2 separate regions of the Homo sapiens genome follow, and region 2 is linked to region 1. Evidence: promoter capture Hi-C in human tissues and cell types (Jung and others, 2019). All regions are on one chromosome and are shown on one strand. The core of a region is centred on a gene start or on the middle of the fragment in contact, and the rest is flanking DNA. Distances in the headings are between cores, read along the strand shown.

The links. The method cuts DNA at HindIII sites, captures the fragments that hold promoters and counts their contacts. A contact is called where the count stands out against the background at its distance.
Region 2: a fragment that was not itself captured here is called in contact with the fragment with the promoter of MRPS10 in region 1 in 1 of the 25 tissues and cell types used here (mesenchymal stem cells).

The regions. Positions count from the first base shown.
Region 1 is chr6:42,215,854-42,223,161 of GRCh38, reverse strand. MRPS10 (mitochondrial ribosomal protein S10) reads left to right here and starts at 5,301. Exons shown (of 7, transcript NM_018141.4): 1 at 5,301-5,360. The coding sequence starts at 5,313. RefSeq lists enhancers at 5,134-5,413, 5,985-6,586, 6,587-7,189. The HindIII fragment of the contact is 13,512 bases long and covers 2,255-7,308 here.
Region 2 is chr6:42,354,124-42,360,911 of GRCh38, reverse strand. All of the region lies in intron 3 of TRERF1 (transcriptional regulating factor 1), which reads left to right. Among named protein-coding and RNA genes, the nearest start is that of TRERF1, 94 kb to the left of the region's middle. The HindIII fragment of the contact is 3,097 bases long and covers 1,966-5,062 here.

The DNA of each region.
Region 1 (7,308 bases), core at 4,052-6,551:
GGTGTGAGCCACTGCGCCTGGCCTTTTTTGGTTTTTGACTTTAATTTTAGCTGTTTACTTTAGACAACCTATACCAAATAAAATAGCTATTCCTCTAGAAACTGTGTGCCTTAGCCAGTGCTGTAAATTTAAAGTCTACTTCTGGAGGCCTAATTGGAAGATTTTTTTCTACTTTTATTCAGTCAGTCGATCCTCATGAGCCACCATTATTCCATACTGTATTATACAGGGGGAGGAGAGTGTATAAAGATGGCTGTACATGATTCCTTCCTGCCAAGGAATTTAATACCTAGAAAGACATATGGGGGCCTTGGAACAGATTCAATTCCAGGATTGAGAAGAGACCTATCAATATTCGGAATCCTCTCACCATCACCCACATGTACACAGCAATTTATAGCGGGTGCTCAGCAACTATTTGTTCAATGAGTTAACTCGCCAGTCCTCCAGGTACGCTCATCCATGTGTGCATTTGGCAGAGAGAGAATGTGTGTGTAAATCCTGAATTCCATTTACTCCCTATCTACCATCCTCAGCCACCGCCAGCGAGCTGAGATGTGCTCTAGGAATGTGGATGAGAGTTCATGTTGACACAGCAAAGCATAATTAGGAAGACATTTTAAGAAATTGAATAATATATTCCTAAGAGAACCATAAGTGATCTTTGAATTGTAGATATCCCTGTGTAAAGGAGCCAAAGGGCCAGTCGTGATGGCTCACTCCTGTAATCCCAGCACTTCGGGAGGCCGCGGCGGGTAGATCACCTGAGGTCAGGAGTTTGAGACCAGCCTGACCAACATGGAGAAACCCTGTCTCTACTAAAAATACAAAAATTAGCCAGGCATAATGGCGCATGCCTGTAATCCCAGCTACTCGGGAGGCTGAGGCAGGAGAATCCCTTGGACCCAAGAGGCAGAGGTTGCAGTGAACCGAGATCAAGCCATTGCACTCCAGCCTGGGCAACAGGAGTGAAACTGTGTCTCAAAAAAACAATAATAATAAAAATAAATATAAAAAAAGGAGCCAAAGAGCTGATTACTTCCTTTATGTACGAGAGGATCTTTTGGAAAGGACTGTCTTTAAAAACAGAACAACTGGCACAATCAAAATATGATTAACTGTAAAATATTTGATGTATCTATGTTTATTTTTTCTGGACATAAAGCAAGGTTTACTTGCATCAACTATCTAGAATCATTGGACTCCTGCTCCTCTACATGAGGTTGGGTGTCTGGAAGTTTAGGCTGTAGGAAAGAGACCCTTAACGGATAGGCCAAGCTTCAGAACGCTGTCCCTGCCCACACCTCATGCCAAAGAGCACTGTTCACAGCCCTACTCTGGGCAAAACCTGATGTTGCCCCTTACAATGAGTTCTACCTAGGCCCTAGCAAGTCGGCACTTGATCCCAAACCATTAGGCCCCTAGGCCGTGTGGTGACACATTTGGCTCAGCCCAGGAAGATGAGAGAACCAAATCAAATTTCCACATTTGAGAGTATGAATGGAGAAACTTGATGAGCCAAAAGCAGAGAGCAGTGGCCATGCAGAGTCCTGAGGGAGCAGAAACTATTGGTAAGCAGTGAAAGCCCATCATTAAAAAGAACACATTTGGCCTCAGGAGTGAAGAGGGTATCCAGTCCCTAAGACTGTTTAAAGCATACCTTTCCAGTTCCAGGAGCTGTCCAGACCACACAGGTCTTTAAAAATAAGCCCCTATTTCTTTTGGAGTGGTGCTAGGGTGGTGGGTATTTCTAGTCCTATTATCCAAGAGATTTAAATAGAACCGAACCTCATCATAGAATCAGCACCAGCCCACTGCAGAGGTAGAAAAGGCACTGCTTTTAAGATGGTTATTGGTTTAGCTGTAACTAACTTACCATATGACCCTGAGTGAGTCATTTCACCTTGGGTTCCTCATCTATAAAATGAGGATAAAATCCATGTCTTCTGGTGTGGATCAGAGTAGGTAACTTAGGTGAAAGTCGTTTGCAAGCACTATAGTTGCAGAACACTCACCCAGCTGAGGCTACTCAAAGGGGACAGAGGCAGGGTGAAGGGCCTCACGGAAGTGCCATTTGGACAAACCGATGCAAACTTTGGAAGCAGGAACAGAGTTGGGAGTGGGGAGGCTGTTGGAAAACCCCATTGGCTGAGAGAAATCCCCTTAAGTGTCACAATTCAGAGAGAGAGACTGATTCTGAGAAGGGCACTGGGCAACCTGCCAACATGGGGCATCACCGAGTCCAGCAGAAGGGCACACAGGTGAGGCCGGGTGTGGTGGCTCAAGCCTGTAATCCCAGCACTTTGGGAGGCCAAGGTGGGCGGATCAGGAGGTCAAGAGATTGAGACCAGCCTGGTCAACATGGAGAAACTCCGTCTCTACTAAAAATACAAAAATTAGCTGGGCGTGGTGGCGCATGCCTGTAATCCCAGCTACTCAGGAGGCTGAGGTAGGAGAATCACTTGAACCCAGGAGGTGGAGGTTGCAGTGAGCCAGGGTCATGCCATTGCACTCCAGGCTGGGCAACAAGAGTGAAACTCCGTCTCAAAAATAAATAAATAAGAAGTGCACACAGGTGAAGTGTGCTGTTTCCATACCCTGTTGCAAGGCCACACTGGAATCTCTGCCACACCTCAACACGGACTGAATTCTAGTAAACAGAGGCCAGCCTGAGGGGCAGGAAAACTGGTTTCTGCTCCTAGACCTTTTCTATCTCCTAGATAGGTGTGATGTTGGGCAAATCATTCTGCCTCTTCTTTGGTTCTCTTGCCTGCAAAATAGGGTAGTAATAACTATTTGTGGGGAGAAAAAAAAAACAACTTTATATTTGTACAGTTCTTTATTTGGATGCTATAAAATATTCTCATAAACTTGATCTTTTTATTTTTAATCTTCTCAACAACCTTGTGAGGCAGGTGAGGTAGAAACTTAATGGCACAAATAGTGGATGACATCTATAGTGTATCATTACATGGCAGTATTGTACTAAACACCATATATTGGTATTGCATTGAATTCCCAAGCAACTATTGGAAGCAGGAACTACTGTTATCTTTTTTTTTTTTTTTTTTTTGACATATGAGCAAACTGAGGCTGAGGGTAAGGAAGTAACTTGCTCAAAGTCACTCAACTAACTGGTAAGCCTGGGATTAGAAACCAGATCTGATTATAAGGCTAGAGTTTTCCATTAGGCTAAAATGCATATGTGAAAGCACTTTGGGGAAATAAAGCTTAGAAATGTGAACAAATGGGCCAAGTGCAGTGGCTCATACCTGTAAAACCAGCACTTTGGGAGGCCAAGGTGAGAGGATTGCTGGAAGCCAGGAGTTTGAGACCAGCCTGGGCAACATAGCAAGTCTCTGTCTCTACAAAACAATAAAAATAAAATAAAAAATGGTCGCAAACACCTGTAGTTTTAGATACTCCAGAGGCTGTGGTGTGAGGATCACTTAACCCCAGGAGTTTGAGGCTGCAGTGGGCTATGATCAAGCCAGTGCTCTCCAGCCTGGGCAACAGAGCGAGACACTGTCTCACACACACACACAAAAAAGACAATATAGTATTATAGAAGCAGACTTTAAGATGAGGAGAAAGTAAAAGGAAAAATAAAAATAAATTTTTAAAGATTTGCACAAATGGAATAAGTTTTTTTTTTGGAGACGGAGTCTCGCTCTGTTCCCTAGACTGGAGTGCAGTGGTACAATCTCAATCTCGGCTCACTGCACTCTCTGCCTCCCGGGTTCAAGAGATTCTCCTGCCTCAGCCTCCCAAATAGCTGGGATTACAGGTGCACACCACCATGCCTGACTTTGTATTTTTAGTAGAGACAGGGTTTTGCCATGTTGGCCAGGCTGATCTTGAACTTCTGACGTCAGGTGATCCACCCGCCTTGGCCTCCCAAAGTGCTGAGTGCTGGAATTACAGGTGTGAGCCGAGCCACTGCACCTGGCCTTTTCTTTTCTTTTCTTTTTTTTTTTTTTTTTTTAGACAGAGTCTCATTGTGTCTCCCAGGCTGGAGTGCAGTGGCACGATCTTGCCTCACTGCAACCTCCACTTCCCGGGTTCAAGCAATTCTCGTGCCTCAGCCTCCTGAGTAGCTGGGACTACAGGCACACAACGATGACACCCCACTAATTTTTTGTATTTTTAGTAGAGATGGGGTTTCACCATGTTGGCCAGGCTGGTCTCGAACTCCTGACCTCAGGTGATCCGCCCACCTCAGCCTCCCAAAGTGCTGGGATTACAGGCGTGAGCCACCGCACCCAGCCTGAAGAAGTTTTTATTATAGCAAATCCCAGTTATACATCTTTTTACTTGGAAAAAATTATGGTGGACATTAATAATTAGACAAAACACTTTGGCTTGTTGTAAGTGAAGCTAGCCATTGTAAATTCCTAAATACTAGAGTAACATAAGGAAATGAATAATTTAGAAAGATCAGTAGGACAGCGGTATACAAAATGGTTGGAGCACAGGAATTCCAATTGGTGTGGGGAAGGAAGAAAGGATTAAGAACCATAATTAGAAAGCCGCTGCAATAAGGTAACTGAGTGGCAACTGGACCCAATGGTAGTGGCCGACTTTTCTTTTTCTTGTTAAATATAGATTTTGTTAAAATTTTGAAAAATGCAAAAAAAATTGAAAAATGCAAAAATAGGAAAATAAATCACCCATTATTCCAGTACTGAAGTAAATGGTGTCAATACACTAGTTTCAGTCCGGGCTTTGTGGTTCATGCCTGTAATCTCAGTCCTTTGGGAGGCCAAGGCCAGAGGATCACTTGAGGACAGGAATTCAAGACCAGCCCACAAAATAACGAGAGCAATATAATGAGACCCTGTCTCTACAAGAAAATTAAAAAAAAAAACAAAAAATTAGTCGGCTGTGGTGGCACGCACTTGTAGTCCAGCTACTTGGGAGGCTGAGGCAGGAGGATCACTTGAGGCAGGAGTTTGAGGCTGCAGTGAGCTATGACTGTGCCACTGCACTCCAGCCTGGGCAGCCGAGTGAGACTCAGTCTCTAAAAGGAAAAAATAAGTAAATAAATAAATGTGTGTGTGTGTGTGTGTGTATACACACACAACAATTTAAAGGTGAAAACATTAATAGGGCTTGGTAACTATCCAGACACTGGCCGGAGCCAAACCAGCCTGGCCAGCCAACTGTCCCGCCCCCAAAAAGCACAGGTTCATGTCTCTATGGTTGTTCCAGCGCCGGAACATGAGGATGTACTCTCTTCTTTTGCGGAACTCTATGGTCTGAGGACGCCGCTGTAACCCCGGAAGCAATCCTGAGAGGTCGGGACCGGCAAGATGGCGGCGCGGACAGCGTTCGGTGCTGTGTGCCGGCGCCTCTGGCAGGTACTGGATTGGCTAGGGAGACTAGGAGGGCTGACCGGGATAGTTGCTTTTAAGTTTCCCTGCCACCAGCCGCTCTGCCCATCAGGATTTTTCCTGATATTTATCCCTCACCTCGCGCCGTTTACAGGAAAGTGACGAGAAAGGGGCTAGTTTTATCAGAATTCTCTCATGGAATTAAATATAAGTTAGTGAGTCCAGGCAAAGATAGGAACAAGAATAATCGTAGAATGTCAGAGCTGGAAAAGATTTTGTACTTCGTATGTTCCAAAACCCCTCCTTTCACGCTTGCAAAATAAACTGAGGCTCAGAGAAGACAGGAAATTTGCCTCGCGAAAATTAGAGGCTGAGCTGGTGCAAGATATCAGACTCTTCCCATGGAACTAAATTGAGATGCTTTCCTGGCATCCAAATTTAGATGAAGGTCTCAAGCCAGAGAAGTGGGTTAGATATCCTCTGCGCAGTTATTTGCAGGAGGAGCAAAAACTTTTCAGCAGCGGTTCTCCTGCTTTTTGGCCTTGGGACCACTTTACACTTTCGGAGTTCAGGACTCCAGAGAGCTTTTGTTTTTGTGGGTTTTTGCTATCTATATTTAGCTTTTTGGAAAATAAAACTTAAGAATATATATTGATTTAAAAGTAACACTAACTCATTACATGTTACAACTAATACTTTATGAAAAATATATTTTCTGAACAAACTGAGTAAGGAGCAGCAATGTTTTACATTTTTGCAGCTCTCTTTAATTTCTGGCTTAATAAAAGCTAGATTCAAATCTGCTTCTGTATTTAATCTTTTCCTATATCACACCTCAGGCTGTCACGGGAAAACTTCACTGTACACTGGTAAGAGAATGAGTGGAAAAGTTGTAAATGACGTTTTGGTTTTATGAAAATAGTTTTGATTTCCCGGATCCCCTGAAAGTGTCTCAGACCCCACAGACGTCCTCAGACTACACTTTGAGACCACCGTTTTTGTTTTTGTTTTTGTTTGGAGACGGAGTTTCGCTCTTGTCGCCCAAGCTGGAGCGCAATGGCACGATCTCGGCTCACTACAGCCTCCACCTCCCGGGTTCAAGTGATTCTCCTACCTCAGCCTCCCGAGCAGCTGGAATTACAGTCATGCGTCACCATGCCCAGCTAGTATTTGTATGTTTAGCAGAGACGGGGTTTCACCATGTCGGTCAGGCTGGTCTCGAACTCCTGACCTCAAGTGATCCGGCAGCCTCGGCCTCCCAAAGTGCTGGGATTACAGCCTTGAGCCACCGCACCCGGCCTGAAAACCACTGTTCTTGAGAAAAGTCAGATGGTATTAGAGATTGAAATTTTTGAACTGCTTTATTAAGACAAATTTACCCAGACAGCCCTCCCTTCCAAACCACCACTCCCCCAACACACACACACACACACACACACACACTCTCTCTCTCTCTCTCTCTCTCTCTCAAGAAATACAAAGAAAAAATGCAATTTAAAAACTTCTTGGCCGGGCACGGTGGCTCACGCCTGTAATCCCTACACTTTGGGAGGCCGAGGTGGGCGGATCACGAGATCAGGAGATCAAGACCATCCTGGCTAACATGGCAAAACTCCGTCTCTACTAAAAATACAAAAATTAGCTGAGTGTGGCGGTGGGCCCCTGTAATCCCACCTACTCAGGAGGCTAAGGCAGGAGACTTGCTTGAACCCAGGAGGCGGAGGTTTCAGTGAGCTGAGAATGCTCCACTGTACTCCAGCCTGGGCGACAGAGCAAGACTCTCTCAAAAAAAAAAAAAAAAAGAAAAGAAAAAAAAAAGAAAAGAAAAAGCAGAGGTTTATAGTGGGAGAATGTGACTGAGAAGTGTAATATTCTTGCTCCTCTTGCACAACTCGATTGTGGGGTCACTGGTGTAATTGTTGGGAGGGAATTTTCTATGCAATTTTGTCTGAAGAATGGCACATACCTCTTACCA
Region 2 (6,788 bases), core at 2,265-4,764, 140 kb before region 1:
CGGCACAATGAATTGATTAATCAGCTCATGTACCTGCCATGTGCAGGGATAGGGTGGACTGCAGGGTGGGTGTGAACCAGCAGCTCAGCAGTATCCTAAACCATCCAGGTTTTTTTTTTTTTTTTTTTTTTTTTTTTTTTAATCTCTCCACTCCTTCCTCCCTGGGTCAGTTCATCCTCAGGCTGGCTTCTGCACCAGACTGGCTCCTGCACCAGGCTGTGGGGAGGCTGGGGGTGTGTAGAGTTCTGGACACTTTGTCAGGGTAGGAGGGAAATAGAACTTGGGAGCCGCAGCTGACATCCACCATACTGTACCACCCATAGAAGTAGAATAATACCTTACTAACTTGGACCAGTCATTGGGGATAATAGTGAGAGGACACTCAACCTTAACTAGTAAAAGTTTGAATCTTCAAGTGTTTTAATGTGGTATAGTGTCAGGCAGGATCTTCCCAAACACATCCTGTTGGAAGCAGTTAGCATCTGTTTTTCAGTATGTCTTAAAACGTACGACCTTCTAGTAGGTTAAATATATCTTCTGAAATCCCGTTTAATTTCTAATTTGCTTATTCAACCTTTTAATAGCCAGAGTAAACACTGAACTCAAATTCTGGGTTGGTGAAGATTAAATTACAGTAATGAGGTTCCTCATTTATAAGCTCATCTATAAAATGGAAATAAGAATAGCACCTACTTTATAGGTTTGCTGTAAGGATTAACTGAGGTGATCTGAGTCAAGCGCTTAGCCCAGTGGATAGCCCAATAAATGTTACCTTTATTAGTGTCATATATTGCCAAATATTGTCACCTTTATGTTTTTATGTGCATGTTTAACTAGAAAATTAATTCTCTTCGTAACAAATATATTATCTGCTGCTGATTAGTTCTGTTAGAGAGGAGGTAAATAAAGGTATTAAAATATTTAGTGTTTATGGATTCTTTTTTTACCGAAGTTTTTTTTTTCTGTTAGAATTCATTTTGGGGGAAGCCTAAATACAGATAAGTTTAAGGAGCATACAACTGAAAATAGATAGAACCTCTAGAATATAGGGATTTTAAAATTTTATGGCAATATGTTCTTATATTCTTAGTTGAAAAATCTCTTAAATAGTTGATGGCCTGTCATGACCTCATGACCTATCCCAGCTGATTTTTGGGGTTTTTTTTGTTGGTTTTTTGGGTGTTTTTTTGAGACGGAGTCTCGCTCTGTCACCAGGCTAGAGTGTTGTGGTGCGATCTCGGCTCACTGCAACCTCCGCCTCCCAGGTTCAAGTGATTCTCCTGCCTGAGCCTCCCGAGTAGCAGGGACTGCAGGCGCACGCCACCGCGCCCAGCTAATTTTTGTATTTTTAGTAGAGATGGGGTTTCACCATGTTGGCCAGGATGGTCTCAATCTCCTGACCTCATAATTCACCCACCTCAGCCTCCCAAAGTGCTGGGATTATAGGCGTGAGCCACTGCACCTAGCGATTTTTTTCCTTATTCTCAGTCTGGAGGCTCTGGAGGGATGAGTGACCCCCGCTTGCCTTTGGTTTCCTGAACCAGCTACACAGTCAGACTGTCCTGGGAGGATGGATGGATTTTCGGATCACTGGGATTGAGTGAGATACTGCAGTACTGAGAAACTAGTCTTGGGCATCCACTTCAGTAGAATTTCAGCTGACAATATGATGAATCATTCCAGAAAGCCTCTGGTGCCACAGGGCTGACCTCTCAGAATCCCAGGAGGGTCAAGCATCTTGATTTGGGGTTCCCAGATTAACGGTGCGGAGAGCACTGGTTGGCACAGGGCCTCCAAAAGCTTTACCACCTGTTCCAGAACCAGGAGGAGGAGGCTTTGACGATGGAGGGGTGAGCATGTAGGGTGCAGCAGGAGAACAGTGTTCCATAGTGGCCAGGAGCTTTGAAGACTACATTCTTCATCCCCACTCCCTGAGTGTTGACTAAAGTTAGACTTCCGTCTTCTGTAGGTTGTTAGTTGCACTTGGGGCTTGCCACCATTTTGATACCTAGATGAGCACTGGTTGACTCCAAATTCCTTGGCTCAGAGAGTGCTGTAAACTAGTGGTTCTCAAATGAAGATTGCCTGGACCCAGAAAGCACTAGGAGAAAAAAAAAAAAAAAAAAAAGCTTTAGGTCATTGACCTAGGGCTCCCAGTCTTTTTTATTTTGCCAAGTTAGGACATTTTAAAAACTCTTAACACTCATCACAAAGCTTTTATGAAAAAACCATCTTGATGCCAAAGTAGTAGGAAAAGATAATATAAGAACAAAACAAAAATCTTTAAATAGAAAACACTCAGCTTTAGGAATAATTTACTACATTGTTCTTATTTTTCTGACATCACCTGTGAAAACTCCACCAAGGGAGGGTGGGCACTGCCCCGCATTTGCCCTCCAGGTGTCAGGTGCCCACCTGGTGATGTGGAGTTAGCTGCTGAATGTGCAACTGTAGGGAAATACACCCTACTTTTTGAAGCCTCACTTGGAGCCTAAGAGTTCTCTAGAGTCATATCTTGATTGGATTTATAAGTTAAAGTTGGGGGAAAATCCATTTTAATACAAGTTTTGATAAACCCAATTTATTTTATAAGGAAGGAGCCGTTTACCCTGCAGTCATTAACTTAGAATTGTTAGTTTAATTTTCCACCAGCAGGAAGAAAATCTTGCAATACCTAAGTAGTTCAAATTAGAAAGTGTGTCAACAGTTTTTCCTTTTCCACTATTTAACCCTAAAAATGATAAATGTCTTCAATTTGATCTGACTTTCAGTTGTATGGTATGCCTCTGTAGGTGGGAAAGGGTGTGTGTGCCAACCCCACCCCCAACCCCCCACATATGCAGAAAACTTGGTTTGATCCCAGGAGCCCCAGAAAGGAAGGGGTGCTTGTGAGAAATGTTGCCGGTAAGTGCTAGTATTAATACTTGTAGCAGTCACTTGCTGGTGTTAGTACTTGTAGCAAAAGTTGCATCTCAGAACTGCCAAAATAGTGTGACTTTTTAAGACGCCTTTTGGAGTCATTAAAAATCCCCAAACATACACCCAACCACCCCTGCCATCCAGAAGCTTAACTAAACATTACTCATTCTGCTTTCATTACACGTCTGCCTGGCTTTGCCACAAACACACTTTGCCTTCCAGTCAGGATTAAGCTTCTGTGTTAGGCCATGACTGGTGTGAAAGTAACCCCTCTGTCCTTGTTGACTGGGACAGAAAGACTGCTCGCTCGCCCGTGTGAAATTGTGAATGGAATCATGGAATCCTGGAGCCAAAGCAAGTTGGTTGCCTTCCTGCAGGACTATCCTAATGCTCATCACCTTGACTGGCAAAAGGTGTCCTAATTCTAACGTTTCATGGGTCTCCTGTAAACAAGGACGTGATCTCAGATGTGGCTTTCTCAATAAAAAGAAGACCATTCTGTGGCACACTAACACCTACAGTTATTGTCTGTTAACCGCATTCTTAGGCAAAGCGTTACCGTTTGAGTCCTTCTAGTAGCCTCATCTGTGCTCGTATGCTTATATGGCACAGTTCTTGCATGTTCTAGCAGACACTGGATTTTTTTTTTTTTTTTTTTTTTTTTGAGACAGAGTCTTACTCTTTTGCCCAGGCTGGAGTGCAGTGGTGCAGTCTTGGCTCACTCCAACCTCTGCCTCCTGGGATCAAGCGATTCTCCTGCCTCAGCCTCCTGAGTAGCTGGGATTACAGGCACGCACCACCATGCCTGGCTAATTTTTGTATTTTTAGTGGAAACAGGGTTTCACCATGTTGGTCAGGCTGGTCTCGAACTCCTGACCTCGTGGTCCATCTGCCTCGGCCTCCCAAAATGCTGGGATTACAGGCGTGAGTCACCGCACCCAGCCAACATTGGGTCTTAATTTGTTCAGACCCCTTACCACTGGTTTCTCTCAAGGCATATCTTGCTCCACGGCAGACGACATTGTGCTTTTTGACAGACATTACCACAACATTCTTGTCTTAGCTCAGGCTGCCATAACAAAATACCATAAAGTGGGTTGCTTAAACAATAGAAATTTATGGGCCGGGCGCAATGGCTCACACCTGTAATCCCAGCACTTTGGGAGGCTGAGGTGAGTGGATCACGAGGTCAGGAGTTTGAGACCAGCCTGGCCAACATGGCAAAACCACGTCTCTAAAAATACAGAAAAATTAGCCAGGTGTGGTGGCAGGCACCTGTAATCCCAGCTACTCGGGAGGCTGAGGCAAGAGAATCGCTTGAACCCGGGAGATGAAGGCTGCAGTGAGCCGAGACTGTGCCACTGCACTCCAGCCTGGGCAACAAGAGCAAGACTCCATCTTAAAAATAAATAAATAAATAAAAATTATTTTTCACAGCTCTGGAGGCTGGGAAGTCCAAGATCAAGGTGCTCAGCAAGGTAAGTTTTATTCTGAGGCCTCTTCTCTTGGCTTGTGAGTGAGAGCCATCTTGCTGTGTGCTCACCTGATCTCTTCCTTGTGCACTCAGAGACAGGAATCTCCTCTTCCTCTTCTTATAAGATCACCCATCCCATCGTGGGAGCTTCACTCTCTTCACCTTACCTAAACTTAATTATCTCTCAAAGACCTCATCTCCGAATGGCATCCCATTGGGGTTTAGGGCTTCAACATAGGAATTTGGGGGAAGAGAAACATTCAGTCCGAAACAACTCTTGAGTCTTTATTTGTGGTGCCTGTGAAGTGCTTATAGGGTCACTGGTCCAGGGGCCCTGCAGTACAGAAAGCCTTAGAGCGACAAGTGTTCCTTGTTGTGGAAGAGGGGAAGCATCCTAGGCTGCAGATGGCACAATAAAATGGGAAGTTGGAAGACCTTTACCACAGAGCTGGAGGTGACCTGGGGCTAGACAGAGGTTCTCCTTGTCTCTCCAGGTCTCAGCTTTCCTAGTTCCGAATGTCAGTGGTAAAGTTGTGGTTGCCAACTTGGTCAGCCTCAATGAAATTTGAATGGTTCAACACATCCAATATTCCATGATCACCTTCTATAACCTTCATGTGCCTCTTAAAAGGAGGCTCTTGGAACCAAAGCCTGGGAAAATGTGTTTTTTTCTGAACACTTTATCATCTTGGGCATTTACTCCCTTTTCATGGGGGAAAGAATGGCCATAAATTATAATAGAGCTGTTCCATTTGAGATCAGTATCTTACATGTCATTCTAAATGTATACTAACATGGTAATGTCCACGTGGACACACACACACTCATACACCCCTGTGCCAGGTGGAATATTTTAAGATATAAAAAGGCCTTTGAAAATCCTTTTAAACTCTCAAGGAACAGATAATTCCTATGTTATATAAACTGTTGCGGGATTGAGAAAAAAGATGGAAAACTTCCAGATCCTTCTTTCAAGCAAGCAAGGCCCTGATATCAAAACAGGCAAGTCCCCAGAGGGAGGATCTATACCAGTCTCACTTAGGAATGTAAAAGTTTTAAATAAAATTCTAGCGAGTAGATTTCAACAATAGAGTATGTGAATGTTCTACCATAACCAAATAGATTATATTCCTGGAATGCAGGAATAGCTTCATATACATATATTTTCCTATGGTTCATATAAGTTGTTCAAATAAAGATATGTAATAACCTCATTAATTCCAAAAGTGTATTCAATCAGTTTTTAAGTTTTTATATACCACTTTAAGAGGAATATATAAAGTGACCAATCTTTAATATTATAAGGAATATCAGGTTCATGCAGCCCACTGCCGCTATATACTTACTGGTGAAACAATAAAGGCATCACTCGTTACCTCTTCAAGTTTTAGTCAATGCAGAGAGTCATAAAATAGTAACTTGGAGAATAAATATTATAAAGAAAAATGACAAAGTTATTATTAACTACAGATTGCTTAGTTGTAGATGAAGAAGACTTAAAGAGTTTTACTAAAAACCCTATTTCTAGATAATGAGCTTGAAACTAAGGATTTGGATTCTTCTCAAATTAGTTCATGAGTCTAGTACCATTCCTCTGAAAGTCCCATCAGGATGTTTTAAATTTCACAAGATGTTTCTATGTCTGCTTGGAAAAATAAATAGATGAGAACATCGGGGGAATTCTGAAAGTGGTTTTGGGGAAAGGGAGTTAGATCTATTGGATATTAAAATATATAGCACTATGAGGTATTAAAATGCAATATAAAGTCTTTGTAATTAAAATACTGTGGTGCTGTCATAAAAGGAGGAAGTAGATTAGTGAACTAGGATAGTTCAGAAATAGACCCTTGCATAAATAATTTAATAAATCATAAAGCAGTCATCACAAATCAGTGGGGAAGGAAAAATTATTCAATAAATAATTCTGATGCCTCATTAACAATTTGGGAAAAATCATTTTGGCTTCACCAAAATGAATTACAGATGGATTAAACAATTAAAGTGCAAAATGTAGAGGCATAGGAAATCTATAGCATTGAATATTACTTAGAAACAAAAGAAAAGCATTCAAAAAGGAAAAGAATAGTCAATCAAACTACAGGAAAATGAAGCGTTTATGTGAAAAAAAAAAAGGGAAACAACAGACTGGGGAAAGACTGGCAATAATATGACAGAATTAATCTTTACACTGCAAAGTGCTCAAATTAAAAAGAAAAGTACTAAACCTTGTTAGAACACTTGAGTAGATAACTAAATACAACACTAAACAAATATATAGAAAATGTACAAATTCAGCAGTAATAAGAAATATGCCCTCTCATGGCTCTGCAGGCTGCATCTGGACCCTTCCCCCAAGCACTGACACAATCACCCTCCAAGGCAGCTGGATCCAAAC